Regions from separate parts of the Homo sapiens genome. Here all the other regions are linked to region 1. The links are contacts of gene promoters, found by promoter capture Hi-C in blood cells and fetal thymus (Javierre and others, 2016). All regions are on one chromosome and are shown on one strand. The core of a region is centred on a gene start or on the middle of the fragment in contact, and the rest is flanking DNA. Distances in the headings are between cores, read along the strand shown.

What was found. The method cuts DNA at HindIII sites, captures the fragments that hold promoters and counts their contacts. A CHiCAGO score of 5 or more calls a contact.
Region 2: a contact is called between a fragment that was not itself captured here and the fragment with the promoter of NGLY1 in region 1, in 1 of 17 cell types (non-activated CD4 T cells). The highest score is 6.0, in non-activated CD4 T cells.
Region 3: a fragment that was not itself captured here is called in contact with the fragment with the promoter of NGLY1 in region 1 in 8 of 17 cell types (activated CD4 T cells, total CD4 T cells, total B cells and 5 more); the score reaches 13.7 in activated CD4 T cells.
Region 4: a contact is called between a fragment that was not itself captured here and the fragment with the promoter of NGLY1 in region 1, in 1 of 17 cell types (total B cells). The highest score is 5.5, in total B cells.
Region 5: a contact is called between the fragment with the promoter of SLC4A7 here and the fragment with the promoter of NGLY1 in region 1, in 4 of 17 cell types (fetal thymus, non-activated CD4 T cells, activated CD4 T cells and 1 more). The highest score is 16.2, in fetal thymus.
Region 6: a fragment that was not itself captured here is called in contact with the fragment with the promoter of NGLY1 in region 1 in 1 of 17 cell types (non-activated CD4 T cells); the score reaches 5.8 in non-activated CD4 T cells.

The regions. Positions count from the first base shown.
Region 1 is chr3:25,782,017-25,784,845 of GRCh38, reverse strand. It overlaps NGLY1 (N-glycanase 1), which reads left to right and starts at 1,403. Exons shown (of 12, transcript NM_018297.4): 1 at 1,403-1,586. The coding sequence starts at 1,456. RefSeq lists a silencer at 1,214-1,453 and enhancers at 1,764-1,813, 1,974-2,053. The HindIII fragment of the contact is 11,918 bases long and covers 1-2,829 here.
Region 2 is chr3:27,643,442-27,646,270 of GRCh38, reverse strand. All of the region lies in intron 1 of LOC124906221 (a long non-coding RNA gene), which reads right to left. Among named protein-coding and RNA genes, the nearest start is that of LINC02084, 68 kb to the left of the region's middle. The HindIII fragment of the contact is 153 bases long and covers 1,379-1,531 here.
Region 3 is chr3:23,948,849-23,951,677 of GRCh38, reverse strand. All of the region lies in intron 1 of NR1D2 (nuclear receptor subfamily 1 group D member 2), which reads right to left. Among named protein-coding and RNA genes, the nearest start is that of NR1D2, 5.0 kb to the right of the region's middle. RefSeq lists a silencer at 2,646-2,829. The HindIII fragment of the contact is 1,040 bases long and covers 904-1,943 here.
Region 4 is chr3:23,968,377-23,971,205 of GRCh38, reverse strand. All of the region lies in intron 7 of NR1D2 (nuclear receptor subfamily 1 group D member 2), which reads right to left. Among named protein-coding and RNA genes, the nearest start is that of NR1D2, 25 kb to the right of the region's middle. RefSeq lists a silencer at 2,162-2,362. The HindIII fragment of the contact is 182 bases long and covers 1,336-1,517 here.
Region 5 is chr3:27,482,985-27,485,813 of GRCh38, reverse strand. SLC4A7 (solute carrier family 4 member 7) reads left to right here and starts at 1,430. Exons shown (of 26, transcript NM_001321103.2): 1 at 1,430-1,747. The coding sequence starts at 1,688. RefSeq lists enhancers at 772-901, 1,380-2,156, 2,172-2,231, 2,262-2,471, 2,632-2,691 and silencers at 1,032-1,511, 1,542-1,901, 1,932-2,001. The HindIII fragment of the contact is 9,889 bases long and covers 1,111-2,829 here.
Region 6 is chr3:27,364,591-27,367,419 of GRCh38, reverse strand. All of the region lies in intron 1 of NEK10 (NIMA related kinase 10), which reads left to right. Among named protein-coding and RNA genes, the nearest start is that of NEK10, 3.4 kb to the left of the region's middle. The HindIII fragment of the contact is 1,070 bases long and covers 932-2,001 here.

The DNA.
Region 1 (2,829 bases), core at 154-2,653:
AATTTTAGTTACAGACGGTAGTAACATACTACTATCTGTTGAACACACCATACTTGGAAGGTGGTCCAAAGATTTACATATTTATTAAAAGCGTACGTATATTTGGGAGACGAATAGTCATTGAACTGGATGTCATAGCTTAGGGTCTTGTTCGGAGATTCTGGAAGAAAATTTCAATTCTTAAAAGTAAACAGATGAAACATCAAGAAATTTAAAAGAGGTTATTCAGGCAAATCACTTATCTTAAGAAATAAAGTCAAGAAAAATACTTCGTGAGGTTGAAAAGGAATTTCTGCAAAGAAGGAAGCCACTGGTAAAGTACACTTTCAAGAACATGGTGGGGAAGAGACTGGATTAAAGTAGTAAGGGATGCATCTTCTAAGAGGAATAAAAGACCTTGATCACATGATCTACCTAAAAAACAAGTCACAAAATATTACTTACCCTTACTGTGTGGGATGCAAATTTTTATTCCCTTCCCGCCCCCGACATTCTATAATATTGCGTAATTATTATGCATGTGTTTTACGCTGGTCACCACGCGGTAAACCGAATCCACAACCCATTATTATGTCGCAACCTATGGTTTAAAAATACACTTCCTTACAGAGGAATCATATACTAGTTGAGCTGGAACTTAGATTTTCAGTCATTAGCCAAATTCTGAAAAGAATCCATATAACAAACCCAGCAGAGTTTATAGCCATGGTTTTGTTTTTGACGTTTGTTGCTCCTTCCTTCTGTAGTCTTTCATCCACATCTATGTAGAACGTCCTGACAATCTGCGAAGAGAAGGCTCTAAGGTGGTTTTATTTGTGGGGAAAGGAGGGAGGTACATGCGGTTTCTCCACCTTAATAGCTGGATCAATTAGGCTGGCCCCGGAGCGCAAAGGGATCCGGGTTTCTGAGAGGCACGTGCCAGCACCATTCGCCCGATACCTCTAGACCAAAGCCGGCCTCCCCTCCAGCCGAGCTCCTCCGTCCTAAAGGACTCGACATCCCCCTCCTCCAGGCCCACACCCCTCAGCCCCGGAGCCCAGGCCCCGCCTCTCCCTGCGGAACCCCTTCCCAACCTGTACGACCAGGCCCCAACTCTGGGTCGAAGCACCTCGCCCCTGCCGGCCGAGGCCCCCCACCTTCTTCCGAACAGCCCCTTGCCCCCCGCGAAGGGGCAGCCGTAGCTCCCAGCCGAGCTCCCCCGCTCCTGGCCCCGGTCCCCGACCCCGCCCCAGGCCCCCGACCCCGCCCCTGCCGGCCGAAGACCCCGCCCCTGCCGGCCGAGGACCCCGCCCCTGCCGGCCGAGGACCCCGCCCCTGCCGGCCGAGGACCCCGCCCCTGCCGGCCGAGGACCCCGCCCCTGCCGGTGGCTGCGGTAGCTGCTGCGCGCTGAGGCGCCTGCTCAGTGTGGGACGCGGAGAGCGAGGGGCGGCGGCGGCGCCCGCTGGCGCTCAAGCATGGCGGCGGCGGCATTGGGCAGCTCCTCAGGCTCGGCGTCCCCGGCCGTGGCTGAGCTCTGCCAGAACACCCCGGAGACCTTTTTGGAGGCCTCCAAGCTGCTGCTCACCTATGCTGACAACATCCTCAGGTGCAGGGCAACGGGGTCGGACGGCGGGTACCGGGGTGGGTGGGCCGCGGCACCTTGTTCGGCCAGGGACTGGGGCGTCCGGCCTGAGCTTCAGAGGGCAGCGACGCCCGGACAGACCGGGACCTGGAGCTGGTTCTGCTCCTAACGTCCGAGCCCGCCGGCCAGGGGCCTCGGGACCCGGCCAAGTCCCACCCCCGCTCGAGAAAAGGAAGTTTCTTTGCAGTTGTGACTTGGCACCTGCAGTCAGGGTGCTGCGGGTGAACTGGAGTCCCGGAAGCGGGGCCGGGCGGAGGAGAGGTAGGAAGGCGTGCTTCAGACACTGCCGCTCTTCTCGTCGTTTAACGGCCTCAGATATCGGGACACAACGGTAACCGCACCGCGCGTGTCATTCCCCCTGCGTGCATTTTTCGAGCGGAGTGGCTTACATTTCCACATACTTATCAGAAGTTACTCACTGACAAAGTGATGTTTTCTTCCCATGTTGAGACTATCCGAGTACTAAAGCATAATGCTTCTGAAGTGGTGGGTTTTAAAATTTTTAATTTTTTTTCTGCCCACTTTTGTTGATTGAAACATTATAGTATTTTGAAGTTACAGTTTTTATATTAATACCTGGATTCTACTATGTAACATAACCCTTTAAGAATTCGTGGAGGTAATCGCCTTGGATGAGAGTAATTTCCTTCATTCTCCTGTCAGCAAAATTGCACTTCTAGAGGTCTAAGGGACCTTGCAGATTTTGGGAATTGGGAGGCAAGTTTGATTATTCATTTTGAATAAGTACCCACCTCAACTCTTCAGATCAAATGATCTGAAGGGACATGGTGTGGGGGGGTAGGGAAATGGAACTGAGGTTAAAGGAGAGCCACTTGCTTTAGGGGTGTTACCTCATTTATCAGGTCACCGTGATTAATTAGGTTCTCTGTTCCCCTCAGCCCCTGGTGCATTAAGTGTTTGGTATATTGTCATGAAGTCTAAAAGGAAATTCTCAGTTTCAAGGTTATAGGTTTCACGTGACCCAATTTTAGACATTAGTTACATGTGCAGTTTTTAAAATCCATGTCAGTAATATTTCATTTAGGCAATGGTAATGATTTTTAAAGTAAATTGAAGGGAAAATATATTGAGCCCTTATTTTGTGGCAGATGCTATGAAAGATGCAACATGTGGCCTGTTCACAGCTACATAATTGTGACCTGTGTGGGGACCACCTTCGTGCTCTGTGACACCTTCTCAACTCACC
Region 2 (2,829 bases), core at 206-2,705, 1.9 Mb before region 1:
GCATTTTATTTTTTAATTTTTTTAGAGATAGGGTTTCACTCTGTCACCCAGGCTGGAGTGCAATGGGGTGATCACAGTTCACTGCAGCCTTGAAGTCCTGGACGCAAACGATCCTCTTGACTTGGCCTCCCAAGTAACCGGGACTACAGGTGTGTGCTGCTGTGCCCAGCAAATTTTTAAAACATTATTTTTTGTAGAGACAGGTCCTCACATTGTTGCCCAAGCTGGGCTTGAACTCCTGGCTTCAAGTGGTCTTCCCGCCTGCCTTGGCCTCCCAAAGTGCTGAGATATCAGGCATGAGCCACCATGCCCGACCAATATGCTATTGTCAGGTGGTGCAGAAAATACACTTTGAGAAACACTCTTTTAATTTGAGGATGCCCTTGGGCTGTCCCATGTGATGGCTCAGGTCACAACAACAGAATTCTAAATGATATGAAATGAGAGGCTGGGCACGGAGGTGCATGCCTATAATCCCAGCACTTTGGGAGGCCAAGGCAGGCGAATCGCATGAGGCCAGGAGTTTGAGACCAGCCTGATCAACACGGTGAAACTCCATCTCTCCTGAAAATACAAAAATTTGATGGGCTTGGTGGCTCAGCTTGAACCTGGGAAATGGAGGTTGCAGCAAGCTCAGATGGTGCCACTGCACTCAAGCCTGGGTGACAGAGCAAGACCCTGTCTCAAAAAAAAAGATATGAAACTAGATGGTTTCCCCCTTCTCTTTTCATCCCTAGCCCCCAAAACTATACCCTAAGAAGTGAGCTGGCCAGGCATGGTGGCTCATGCCTGTAATCCCAACACTTTGGGAGGCCGAGGTGGGCAGATCACCTGAGGTCAGGAGTTCGAGACTAGCCTGACCAACATAGTGAAATCCCATCTCTACTAAAAATACAGAAATTAGCCGGGTGTGGTAGCAGGCACCTGTAATCCCAACTACTCGGGAGGCTGAGGCATGAGAATCGCTTGAACCCAGGAGGCAGAGGTTGCAGTGAGCCAAGATCATGCCACTGTACTCCAGCCTGGGGGATAGGGTGAGACTCTGTCGCAAAAAAAAAAAAGAAGTGAGCCAAATCAGACCAATAATTCTTTAAGGTCCTGGAGTTGAGTCCTGCCTTCTGTCTTAGAGTGACACATCACACAACCATCTGGAGACAACTGGGTCTAAATGATTACAAGATTGCCTTTCTCTAGATGGACAAGGAGAGGGGAGACATTTCTGTGCCCATATTTTCATTTCTATCTAAATATCTCATTTCAAATCTGTTTAAAAATTCATAACTGATTCTCCCCGCATCCCCACCAAACCCCTCTCCCCCACTGATAAAATTGAACAGAAACCAGAATCCAAATCATTGAGCAAATAGAGGATGAAGCTTAAGAGACATCTAAATTAAATACACTATATTTAAGACCCTTGTCTCCCACGGCACTTGCTAAGTCCTGGTGAAACAGCACAACACGAAGAGGGTGTTGAGAAAGAACAAGAACCAGAAATGTCAGAGCTCTGATAGGGGAGCCAAGGAAAGCTTCCAATTCAAGGACTGAAAACTCAGATACCTTCATAGGCAAGACATCTATGTGTCATGGCTGGTTATATAAATGTATGCAAAGCAATTGTGAAAATAGGGTGTGCGCAATAGAGAGTGGCGAGGCCTATGGCAAACTAGAGAATGCGTACTCTAATCAATAATACTGGGCTTAAAACTTTGAGGCTCATCTTTGTCTGCAGACTACTAATTTTTGAATATTCAATATAGGCCCCTTTTAGCTGAGAGGAAACCATTTTCTGATGTCACTCCAGGCCTCATATTCAGCTGGTATGAGCCCATAAATCCATACTTGTTCTGCATAGTCAGGGTCTAGCCACACCTGTTTTTAACTATTTGCCTGTCACCTCTGAGTTCACACAATTAGCAGACCAAAGAACTGAAAACACATGTACTCTCTCTTCTGTCTTCTGCCCTTAAAAACTTACTTACATTTTACATTCATAATATGGAAAAATAAATGTATATAAAAAATTTTAAAACAATAAAAAGTCATCCAGGCACTGTGGCTCATACCTATAATCTCAGCACTTTGGGAAGCCAAGGCAGGAGAATCGCTTGAGGCCAGGAGATCGGGACTAGCCTGGGTAAATAGTGAGACCCTGTCTCTACAAAAATTAACATCAGCCAAGAATGATGGTGCGTGCCTGTAGTTCCAGCTACTTGGGAGGCTGAGGTGGGAAGATTGCTTGAGCATAGGAGTTCGAGGATGCATGATCATGCCACTGCACTTCAACTTGGTGACAGAGCAAGACCCCATCTCTAAAAAAATAAAAAAAAAATAGATGCATAGATAAATGTATCAGTGTAAAATAAGATAATTTTCCAATGAAAAGGACCTGAGATTGTATTAAAAATTCATCTGGAGAGCAGATCCATCTGCAGGATGACACTGACAATCCAAACATTTGTTCAACCTTCTTTTGTTGACCTCTGAGTTCTCAATAGACTGCTTGCGCATGTGTTCTCATTGCGGATACGTTAAAACATATTGAAAAAACTTCTCCACCTTAATTTTTTAAAGTATATTAATAAATACAAAGTCTTGCTTTGTTACTGTCAAGGAAGTTCAGTTTTAAAAAACCCCCGAAATTTGGCAACAGTCAATAAACAAACCAATTGATTGTGAGTAGAAATGCCACAGGTATTTACCCCCTTGAGCTGAGAGCAGGATGTTAGTCAGCTCTAGGAGCTAAGGATATTTTCTGTTTTGTTCTCCTCTGTGTCCCCAGAGACCTAGGATCATGCCTGCCACAAAGACAGCTGTCTGGAAGAGTCA
Region 3 (2,829 bases), core at 174-2,673, 1.8 Mb after region 1:
GTTTTAAAGATTGATGATTTCATCGATACAACCGCCAGAATATCATTAATACCCTGTGAATCCAAAGAGAAACCAACTTAACCTAGAAACCTAGCCAGTGTCATGTTACTGGATAAAACCATTGTGCTGTCTTTATATAACTTTAGAGATCTTAAGTCCACATTAAAAATTCCAGGTATTAGCACACTGCTACTTTTTCACAGATGTCTCCACTCACAATAGGACACTTTACAAAGACAAATATTCTTAGTCCTCAATGAAATTCCAAAGGAAGATCTCACAGCTATTTGTCTTCTCTAAAATAGTGTCTTAAGTACTAAATTCACATCTAACATCTCAGGAAAATAAAAGATAAGAAAGTGATGTTTTTCCTTGGAAGTAAGACTTTCCTAGGGCCCCCATTTTCAGTCATTTATGTTCACAAGATCTGCTGACTACCTTAGCTAAGAAATAAACTTTTAGAAATTAGAGCTGGCCGGGCACAGTGGCTCACGCCTGTAACCTCAGCACTTTGGGAGGCCGAGGCAGGCGGATCACCTGAGGTCGGGAGTCCAAGACCAGCCTGACCAACATGGAGAAACCCCATCTCTACTAAAAATACAAAATTAGCCAGGTGTGGTGGCGCATGCCTGTAATCCCAGCTCCTCAGGAGGCTGAGACAGGAGAATCACTTGAACCCGGGAGGCGGAGGTTGCGGTGAGCCGAGATGGCACCATTGCACTCCAGCCTGGGCAACAAGAGTGAAAACTCCATCTCAAAAAAAAAAAAAAAAAAAGAAAAAGAAAGAGAAAAGAAAAGAAATTAGAGCTATGCAGATGGCTTAAAAATTGGTTGCAAGCACTGACGGGGCAATGGACTGTATCGTAATTAATTAACCAAAAAACAATTTCCTTTGCAAAAGCTTCAATATCCAACCTAAAAGAAACTACTGGGCTATTATCAATCCAGCGAAGATCCAATTCCTGTCTTAAGAAAACAAGCATCTGTGCCAGGCACCAGAAAATCAAAGAAGACCCATCTAGAAGTAGCTGCATTCTCCTAGCAAGACCTTCAATATTGATTTAGTTGTCTTGGCATCTATTCTTGCTACTAGACACCCATCTATGAACCTGACTGATAGCAACCCAAATGGGTTAAATTTTAATTTCTTAGAAGAAAAGGAGTACATCTAGTAGTTCCTCAACCTAATGAAGAAAGGAAAGTGAAACTACAAGTCACCAAGTACCTACTGGATGTCAGGAATAAAATGACACAATTTCATCCTCACAAGAAGAACTCTGTGAATTAACTTTCATCAAATCATTTTTTAAACAAGGAGCTCAGAGAGGATAAGTCAGCCACTAAGTGGCAGGCCAAAGTTTAAAGTCAAGGTTGTCCAATTCCAGAGTACAAACTTATTTGGTGAGAAGACCTGAGCAAGCAAGTCACTTTCAATCTTTCTAAACCTGAGTGGTCTTCTATAAAATTGGAATATCTGCCACTTATTACAAGACTGAAATGAAATGGCATTCATAAGTGCTTTTTTCATACACTGTTTTTGATGATAAAGTAAGAAGAGTAAAAATCCCCAAACCAGCAAGTCCCAACACCTCCAAGAAACAGGCAGTATGTACCTCTTTGAAACCCTGAGCTAAAATTAGCTGAAGCAGTCTTCTCTATTTTCAGTTGAAAGGGACCCTGGACCTGGGCCAGGTTCCCAGGCTAGGGCTTACCCAGTGGTCAACTTCAGACAAGCCTTAAGTCAATATCCAATTTTGTACTGCTAGGAAGCACTGATATTCCTGCATATATTGGGGTCTTCTTACCCATTTTCTACACTTGTCCATCATCAAAACCCTCACACTTCCTCTGTCCACCATCCTGGAGATTATGTTTGACTTCAAGTCATGACTGTACTTTTCTGCCTTGTGACTTAGAACAAAACATTTTATCACCAAGAAGCTTTAGTTTCCCTCATTTTAAAAGTGTTATAAATAATTTCTACTCCAAGGGTGGTAGAGTAGATCTAACTGAAGCACTAAAATTCCAATTGTGTCCTAGGTGTCAGGGCTCCAGAGAACAGCATGGTCCTTTCCCTAAAATGCCTTATAGGCCAACTGGGGAAACACCTATGTTATTAGGAGCAATGTTTCACACACATGATTGTGACTGCTGAGGATCATACTAAAGAGGGCAGAAATCAATAGGGGCAAACACATCCAAGGTTGCAATATCTAAGTGGGGAATTGAAGACTGTTTAAATCATCAAAAGAGACATTTTTTAAATAGGGTGACACAAAAATAAATGGTGTGTTTTTTGTTGTTTTTTTTTTTCAGACGGAGTTTCGCTCTGTCACCCAGGATGGAGTGCAATGGTGTGATCTCGACTCACTGCCACCTCCGCCTCCTCGGTTCAAGCGATTCTCCTGCCTCAGTCTCCCAAGTAGCTGGGATTACAGGCACCCGCCACCACACCCGGCTAATTTTTGTATTTTTAGTAGAGACAGGGTTTCACATGTTAGCCAGGCTGGTCTCGAACTCCTGACCTCAGGTGATCTGCCCATCTCAGCCTCCCAGATTGCTAGGATTACAGGCATGAGCCACCATGCCCAGCCAAATCGGTCTTATTTTATAAAATAGACATTATTTTTATCTCCATGTAAATTACTGGAGAAGGGAGGTCAAGGTGTAATCTAATGTCTGGAAATAAGCCAGCATGACTAAAGAGAGGACTGATGAAACTGGGAGGCCCTGCAGATGACTATCCTTTTCCACTAGCTATAACCTACATATATCACTGCAAATTGAGTGGGGATCCATACACATGCAGTATCTCCTTCACCCTCAAGA
Region 4 (2,829 bases), core at 177-2,676, 1.8 Mb after region 1:
GGCTGGGGTGGAGGAAAGAGGAAAAAAGCAGAGACTTTTCATTTTAAACTCTTCTGTAGCGTTTGAATTTCATTTTCCTGCCTAGATACTGCTTTAAAAACAGCTAGTAATTTATGCTGCTGTTTGGCCGGGCACGGTGGCTCATGCCTGTAATCCCAGCACTTTGGGAGGCCGAGGCGGGCGGATCACCTGAGGTTGGGAGTTCGAGACTAGCCTGACCAACATGGAGAAACCCCCTGTCTACTGAAAATACAAAATTAGTTGGGTGTAGTAGTGCATGCCTGTAATCCCAGCTACTCAGGAGGCTGAGGCAGGAGAATTGCTTGAACCTAGGAGAGGGAGGTTGCGGTGAACAGAGATCATGCCATTGCACTCCAGCCTGGGCAGCAAGAGAGAAACTCCATCTCCAAAAATAAAAATAAAAAAACAAACAACAACAACAACAAAAAACAGCTAGTAATTTTTAAGTGGTAAGGATTAAAATTTGACATGAAACTTCATATATGTGTACTTGTATATGTTCATACAGTGACATAACAAAAATTAGAATGCACTGTATTCTTTTACAATCAGTCTTTCACACTTAATTTTCCATTTTTAAAATATATCCTATATAAACAAACAGGTAAATGGATAGATGGATAGGCGAATGGATAGATGGATAGGTAAATGGATAAAGACTCCCCAATATTAATAGTGATCTTTTCTGGTAGTGATATTATAACCTTTTTTTTCCATTTTAATATTTTCTACATTTTCAAAGAACCCATATTAAATTTATAATCAGAAAAAAGGCTTTTTCAAAAACAGATTAAATCAAACTAAAAATCATGTTCCTATCCTGAAATAACAAGGTTCGTTCCTGGCATACAGAGTTTCCCTCTACCCCTTTGCCATCATTTCTTCCTCTGAACTACCTCTGGGAAGTTGGCCCTTCTACTTCATCTCACCTGCCTTAATTTATTTTAGAAGAGTTCACCCCACCTGATGTCATTTCAAAAGCTTCTCAACCTAACTCTCTAGCACTAATGACTTACCTATCTAATCTGCCCACCACAATAAAAATGCAGAATTAATGTTAAACATCACTTTGTTCAACCAGATCACTCTCCTACTTAAGAAGGTACACAGACTTTCTTCTGCCCCATATTTTGGTTAAAATCTCCCCGCTTAGTTCTCATAGCTGTTAGTCCATAACCTGGTGCTCCCCTAACTCTGAAGGCTTTTGTCCCCCTTCCTCCTTGATGTACACTCCAGGCTTTGGCCACCTGACCCTTCCCCGGCCCTATCTCGTACTCTCTCATGCCTTTCCATCTCTTCTTCACTGGGAAAGCTTAATAATTCAACCTTCAAATTCCAGCTCCACTTCTATCTTTCCCCACAGAGCCTTCCAAGATGATTTCACCTTCCTTTCTACAACTCCAGCTTACCTCAGACAGAGAACTACACGGTTTAGTAGCATAAAGCTCTTTGTGTAGTTTCATCTCTCCAAAAAGAATGAAAACACTTAGCAAGCTTGTGCCTTAAAGCTTTCTGTCTCCCCCTGAGCACCTAATAGGTACGGCATATTCATCAGATAAATAATTTAACAAGTATTGATTATCTGTGGTTTCAAAATAATCGATTAATCTGATGTCAACTCAAACCAATACTAATTACTTATCAAGAGATTCTGCAAATGATAGGTAAAATGCAAGAGGCATTATAAATTAGCTATAAAACAGATATCCCTTATTGACATATTCCTTTCATACTACTCCCACGTCATATACACATTTTTAGTTATCCAGGTAGAGCTGGTCAGAAAAGGTAGCCAAATTATGTTACCAAATGGCAAGTCTTTATTCCACTGAGGTACAGGTCCTCAAAATTATACAAATAACTTGTTTTTTTTTTGTTGTTTTTGTTTTTGTTTTTTAACACGGAGTCTCGCTCTGTCACCCAAGCTGGAATGCAAGCTGGTGTGATCTCGGCTCACGGCCACCTCTGCCTCCCAGGTTCAAGCGATTCTCCTGCTTCAGCCTCCTGAGTAGCTGGGACTACAGGCACGTGCCACCATGCCCGGCTAATTTTTGTATTTTTAGTAGAGAAGGGGGTTTCACCATGTTGGCCAGGCTGGTCTCAAATTCCTGACCTCAGGTGATCCACCCACCTCAGCCTCCCAAAGTGCTGGGATTACAGGCGTGCACCCCTGGCGCCTGGCCAAGAACTTGTTCTCTTTCAAGAGCTACTAATTTATGGTTTAGCTACATAATCAGAGGCCGTAACTTATAACTCTCACAATGCCTAGCACAGTGCCCTTTACACAGTAGGAAGCAAATGGGAAACAAAGTCATAACCAAATACTAAAAAATTCCCAAATGTTATACAATAAAATGATGCCTAAAAATAGCTGGCACTTACTTAGACATACCCAGGAAAGTACCTCAATTTCCATTTGTTATTGGGAGTAACAATCTCTGCCTTAATGGGTACTGTCAGAAATAACTGTAATATTAATGCAAGATGGCAGGGGCATTGGGAAACATCATAAATGACTCATATAAATAAACATTAGAAACTCAAAAATCTTGCTCACTCATTCAAACAGTGACTGAGTAGCTCTTCTATGCCAGACACCACACTAGGCTCACATGGTACAACCCCTTCCTTTGACAGGATGAGGAAGGAATCCAAGACCCAAAAGAGTAAAGTTACTTACCCAAGTTACCCACATAATTCAATGGCAGAACTGGACTAAAGCCTACAACTAATTCACATTTCTCTGCAACAAACCACACTAATACCTCTTGATACTTTTAATGTTTTCAAGTAACCCACATTGTATTT
Region 5 (2,829 bases), core at 181-2,680, 1.7 Mb before region 1:
ACAGGGTCTAGCTCTGTCACCCAGGCTGGAGTGCAGTGGCGTGATCTCAGCTCACTGCAACCTCTGCCTCCTGGGTTCAAGCGATTCTCCTGCCTCAGCCTCCTGAGTAGCTGGGATTACAGGTGCCTGCCACCATGCCTGGCTAATTTTTGTATTTTTAGTAGACACGGGGTTTCGTCATGTTGGTCAGGCTGGTCTCGAACTCCTGATCTCAGGTGATCCGCCCGCCTCGGCCTCCCAAACTGCTGTAATTACAGGCGTAAGCCACCGCGCCCGGCCAAATTTCTCATCTTTATGAAACACTCAAGAGAAACCTGTTAACAATAATGAAAATTATCAGCATGCTATGTGCCAGGCACTTTTATGAATATAAATCCCCTTAATCCTTCAATGAGCCTGCATGGCAGGTATTACAATCATCCCGTTACAGAAGGGATATTTGAGAGACGGCCTACAGGGTGGACTCAATAATGTGGCAGCTGGCCGGGTGTGGTGGCTCATGCCTGTAATCCCAGCACTTTGGGAGGCTGAGGCTGGTGGATCACCTTAGCTCAGGAGTTCGAGACCAGCCTAACCAACATGGTGAAACCCCGTCTCTACTAAAAATACAAAAAGTTGCCGGGCGTGGTGGCGCGCGTCTGTAGTCCCAGCTACTCAGGAGGCTGAGGCAGGAGAATAGCTTGAACCCAGGCAGCGGAGGTTGCAGTGAGCCGAGATCATGCCATTGCACTCCAACCTGGGCTGGTGCAAGACTCTGTCTCAAAAAAAAAAAAAAAAAAAAAAAAAGTGGCAGCTGTCGTGGTGCTCAGTGGGCGAGCAAGCACAGGAGGACACCTGGTCAAGTGTACCCCATCTTTCACGGTCCCTGAGTTGGGGTTCGTGCCTACTGGATTGACAGAAAAGAAACTTCCAGGAGTCGTGAAGACTCGTTAGTTGCTTCGGAGGGTTATCCTGGGCGTCCTTGACAGAGGTGGCGTCCTCCTTCCCTGCAGCCTCTAAAGAATGTAGTTAGGAGCCAAGGGAGGTGGTGACCCCCCACCCCATTGAGAACGTCAGGGGAGCTTCCGACTTGAAAAACTAGTTAGACGCTCAGCTTCGGTCAATTAAGCTTATACAAAGAGGGGCGGTGCGTCCTGAGGAGGTGGCACGGGGGAGGCGAGCGGAAGTCCGCCAGCCGCCGATTGGCTGGGACAAATGTCCGTCCCGCCTCCCTCCCGCCCCATCTCCCGGTGGCCTAGCGGCGCGGCCCGCGGGCGCGCTGAGGAGGCTGGCGGTGCCAGACTGGCAGGGGGCGTGACCCGAGGAGGCGGGGCGGGGGGGCGTGTCTTGCCTGGCCCCGGCGCCGGGCTCGTCACGGTTTGCGGCTCCGCCCCCGAACCCCTCCTCCTACGCGGCTCTCCTCCTTCCCGCTCGGTCCGCCGGTTCGCTCAGTTCTAGCTTCAGGTTCCACGCCGCGGCCTCGCTCTCCTACTAAAGCCAGCCCAGCAGTCGCAGCGCGCACACGCACGCCCCGCGTCTCCCGCGCCCGGCGCCCGGCTCTCCCCACGCGCGCACACCTCGCGCACGGACGCACCCACGTTTGTCCTCGCGCGCCGGGGGCTCGGCGGCGGCGGCAGGGGCAGCGGCAGAAGCAGGCAGACCGCGCGGGGCAGTACCGTAGCGGCCGTCACGGGCTGGCCGGCCGGCCATGGAGGCTGATGGGGCCGGCGAGCAGATGAGACCGCTACTCACCCGGGTAACGAGCAGGGTGAGGGCGCCGCGGCGGTGGGGCTCCTCCGCAGGGGGAGGGCGCGGGGCGAGGCAGACAAAGGCGGGGGGCGCGGCGGGCGTCGCGGCTCGGCCACCTCGTCCCAGGCCCGTCGCCCCTCCACCTCCCGGCGGCCGGCGCGCCTCGCCATCCCCTTTGTGTGGCGGCCTGGGGCGCGGGTGGGAGGGGGCCAGCGGCTGCGCTCGGGAGGCCCGAGTCGGGGCGGCCGGCGGCGCGCCGCGGGCATCCTCTGCGCGGCTCAGGCGGGACCCCGACATCCCCGCAGAGGCCGCCTGTGACCCCGACCATCCATCCCTTCCCTCAGCGCTCGCCTCCCCTGTTTCTTAGCGCGCTCCCCAGGCGGGGTCCCGGTTCCGGTTGCCTTGGCGCAGGAGTTTCAGATTAGCCCTCGAAAACCTATCTTTCTTCTCCTTCTAAGGAGGACGGCGGCTCCACCTGTCTCTAGCCCCAGGCAGTGGTGAAGAGCTGGTTGAATCTTTCCCCCTCTTTCCGAGTGTCCCCTCCCGCTCCGCGGTGCGCTTTGTTCGGTGAGTTCTCCGGCCGCGTGGACTGGCCGCGCTCCTTCCCGGCCAAGGCTCTTTCGCTGTTGCCTGCCGGGTCCGCCTTCTCCACTGGCTGGGACCCGGGGAGTATCCTCCTGCCGCAGGCCAAGTAGAAGGAGGAGGGTGTCCTGAGCTGTCTGGTGCTCCTTCTCTAACTCAGCTAGCAAGATCGCGTTTCCTACTGAGACTGGCTTTGATTTCAGGGTTAGAAGAGAATGGGGATGGACTTAAGGCCGGTGTTCCCATTTGTGATGATGGGTGAACGGCCCATGCTCAAGAAGCGGACTTCCTGCTTTCTTTAGAGCACATGCGTCCCCGCAGTTGTCTCTTTCTCCTTTCCAAGTTCGTGACTCAAAGGAGATGGAAGTATTCTAAATTTTCCTACTTCTAATTTTTACTATGCAACCAGCAAAGGCGGGAAGGTTGCAGGGAAAATTGTCCGGTCTTTCACAACTAAGAGGAAAATTACTTCTCCTATGTTTTTATTCAAGAGTTGTCTTTAAAACTGCCTGCCGGCTT
Region 6 (2,829 bases), core at 217-2,716, 1.6 Mb before region 1:
AATCATTATCACGGTAGCTGTTATTATATGACATAAGCTTAAAATGGTAAAGAGAGAGACAGTACAGCATGGTGTGCAAGAGCTAAGCTTTGGAGTCATACATACATGGGTTTGAATCCTAGCTCTAGCATTTTAATTGTGTAACACATAACAAATTACTTAGCCTCTAGTCAGATTCTTTATCTGCACAATGGGGGTATAATAGCACCTAGCTCATAGGATTCTTTTAAAGATTATATGTACATAATTCATACCAAAGGTATAGTGCTTTATATATAGTAAGCTTTCACGTTTAAAAATGAACACACTGGGCTGGGCATGGTGGCTCATGCCGTGAATCCCAGCACTTTGGGACGATGAGGTGGGTGGATCACCTGAGGTCAGGAGTTCAAGATCAGCCTGGCCCACATGGTGAAACCCCATCTCTACAAAAAATACAAAATTAGCTGGGCATGGTGGCGCACACCTGTAATCCCCGCTACTTGGGAGGCTGAAGCAGGAGAATCCCTTGAACCGGGAGGCGGAGGTTGCAGTGAGCCAAGATCACGCCACTGCTCTACAGCCTGGGCAACAAGAGTGAAACTCCGTCTCAAAAAAAAAAAAAAAAAAAAATGAACACACTGAAGTCTAGAGCTGTGAAATTGTCATGGTGAGTTTACAAAAGGTAAAAATCAATCTTTTGATTCAGTCAAGTGCAATTTCTAGGACACCATCCTGTTGTTATAGTACTTGATCACAAACTTTTGTGTTTGGCGACAGCTCTGATACAGCTCTGAGTCTCAATCATTCAGTGAGTATTTATTGACCATCTAATGGGTTTGGGGCTCCATGCCCAGTGAGGGTGAGCCAAAAGACAGTGCAACAAATAAAGTCTTCAGGAGGTGGAAGAAGGGCCTGGAATGTTACTCTGCCTGTCACAGCCAGTCAAGCTTTGAGGCTGAAGTCAAAGTGAACTGGGTTGAGCACTTGGATAGGCAGAGAGGAGCTGGAAGTTCATCCAGACAGTCAACAAATATTTATTGAACACCTGGGCCTTCAGCAGTGAACAAAACAAAGGCACTATTCTCTTAGGACAGTTCTCAGGGCGCAGTAGAGCAGAGTTCATAGAACACAGATTCTGGAGCCAGACTGCTTGGGTTGTAATCCTAGCTCCCCAAATCCTAGATATGGGATTGGCAAGTTAACTTAATCTTTCTGCACCTCAGTTTCCTCATCTGTAAAATGGGGTGGTTGTGAACATTACATGAATTAATATGGAAAAATTTCTTAGAACAGTGGTCAGTATGCCTCAGGAGCATGTAAATGTTATTTATTTGTATTGTGTTCTATTTGGAACACAATACAAGGAGAGAAATAAGTAAAGCAGGATGAGGGAATAGTAATCATCAGCTTGTGGACAGGGTGTATGGCTTGGATTTGGGAATAAGTCTTACATTTTGAAAGATTTCATCTTCTAGATGAAAGTGAACTTTAAACAAACTCATGTATATGCCTGATATGTATCATGATTTAAAAAACAGGAATGGCCAGGCATGATGGCTCACTTTGGGAGGCCGAGGCGGGAGGATCACTTGAGGTCAGGAGTTTGAGACCGGCCTGGCCAACATGGTGAAACCCCGTCTCTATTAAAAACACAAAAATTAGCTGGGTGTGGTGACGCGTGCTGGTAATCCCAGCTACTCTGGAGGCTGAGACAGGAGAATCACTTGAAGCTGGGAGGAGGAGGTTGCAGTGAGCTGAGATCGTGCTACTGCACTCCACCGTGGGCAATAGAGCAAGACTCCATCTCAAAAAAAAAAAAAAAAAAAACACAAAAAAAAAACACAAAAAACCAAAACAAAAAAACAGGAATATGAGCACTGGATAAAATACATAGTTTTTTTATTTGGTAAAATAATTACTTATCTATAGGTCAAACTCCCCTCATCTCAGCTAAAATCTGCCATGGTCATAATGAAAGTCATGGACTTAAGTCCATACAGTTGGCATCAATTCAAAGCTTATTAAATCTTATATTAGAAATAGTTATGATAGACACAGATTCTAGCTTCAAAGCAGTCAGCAGAATCAAAGTGACAAAATGACAATTGACTGGCTCATGTCTACAAAAGATACCTAAGCCCTCCTGTAAAAATTAAAGTAAAAACTACAAGCAGGACAGATAAAGCACAGCAGCCATAACACTGACCTTGGGCCATGAGGAAAATGTTCCACAGTAGTTAGTATATTTTGCAAAAGACAGTTAATATGAAAAGTATGAATAAAATAATATTTCTTTATTAAAGAAGTAAATATTTATCTAGAAAATTCACTTAGGTGAATAGAGAGCTGGATAAATGCCACCAATAAATGAGAGTTAGTACTGCATTAGATTAACAGGAAGGGTTCTGCCTGGCTTCAAATCTCTGCTCTGCCACTTACCAGCTGTGGGACCTTGGCAAATGAATGAACCTCACTGGGCCTCATTTCCTTCATGTGTAAATTAGGGACAGTAAGGGTAGCTACCTTACAGATTCATTAGGAGTGTTACATTAGGTAATGTATAGAAAGCACTTAGAACAGTGCTGGCACTACCATGTAAATGTTTGCTCTTATTATGACTGTTGTTATTACTAGGTATGAGATCTTGGCCAAGTTCCTTGACATTTTAGTGCCTCAGTTTCTTCATCTGTAAGTTGGAGATATAATACTAATCACCTCAGAGGGTTGTTTTGAGGATTAAATGAATATACTAATGTGCTTGTAAGAATAACCCTTAATAGGTTTTTAAAAATTAAAATGAAAACCATTTGTGACATTGAATTTAAACTCTATTTTTAATTTTATCTC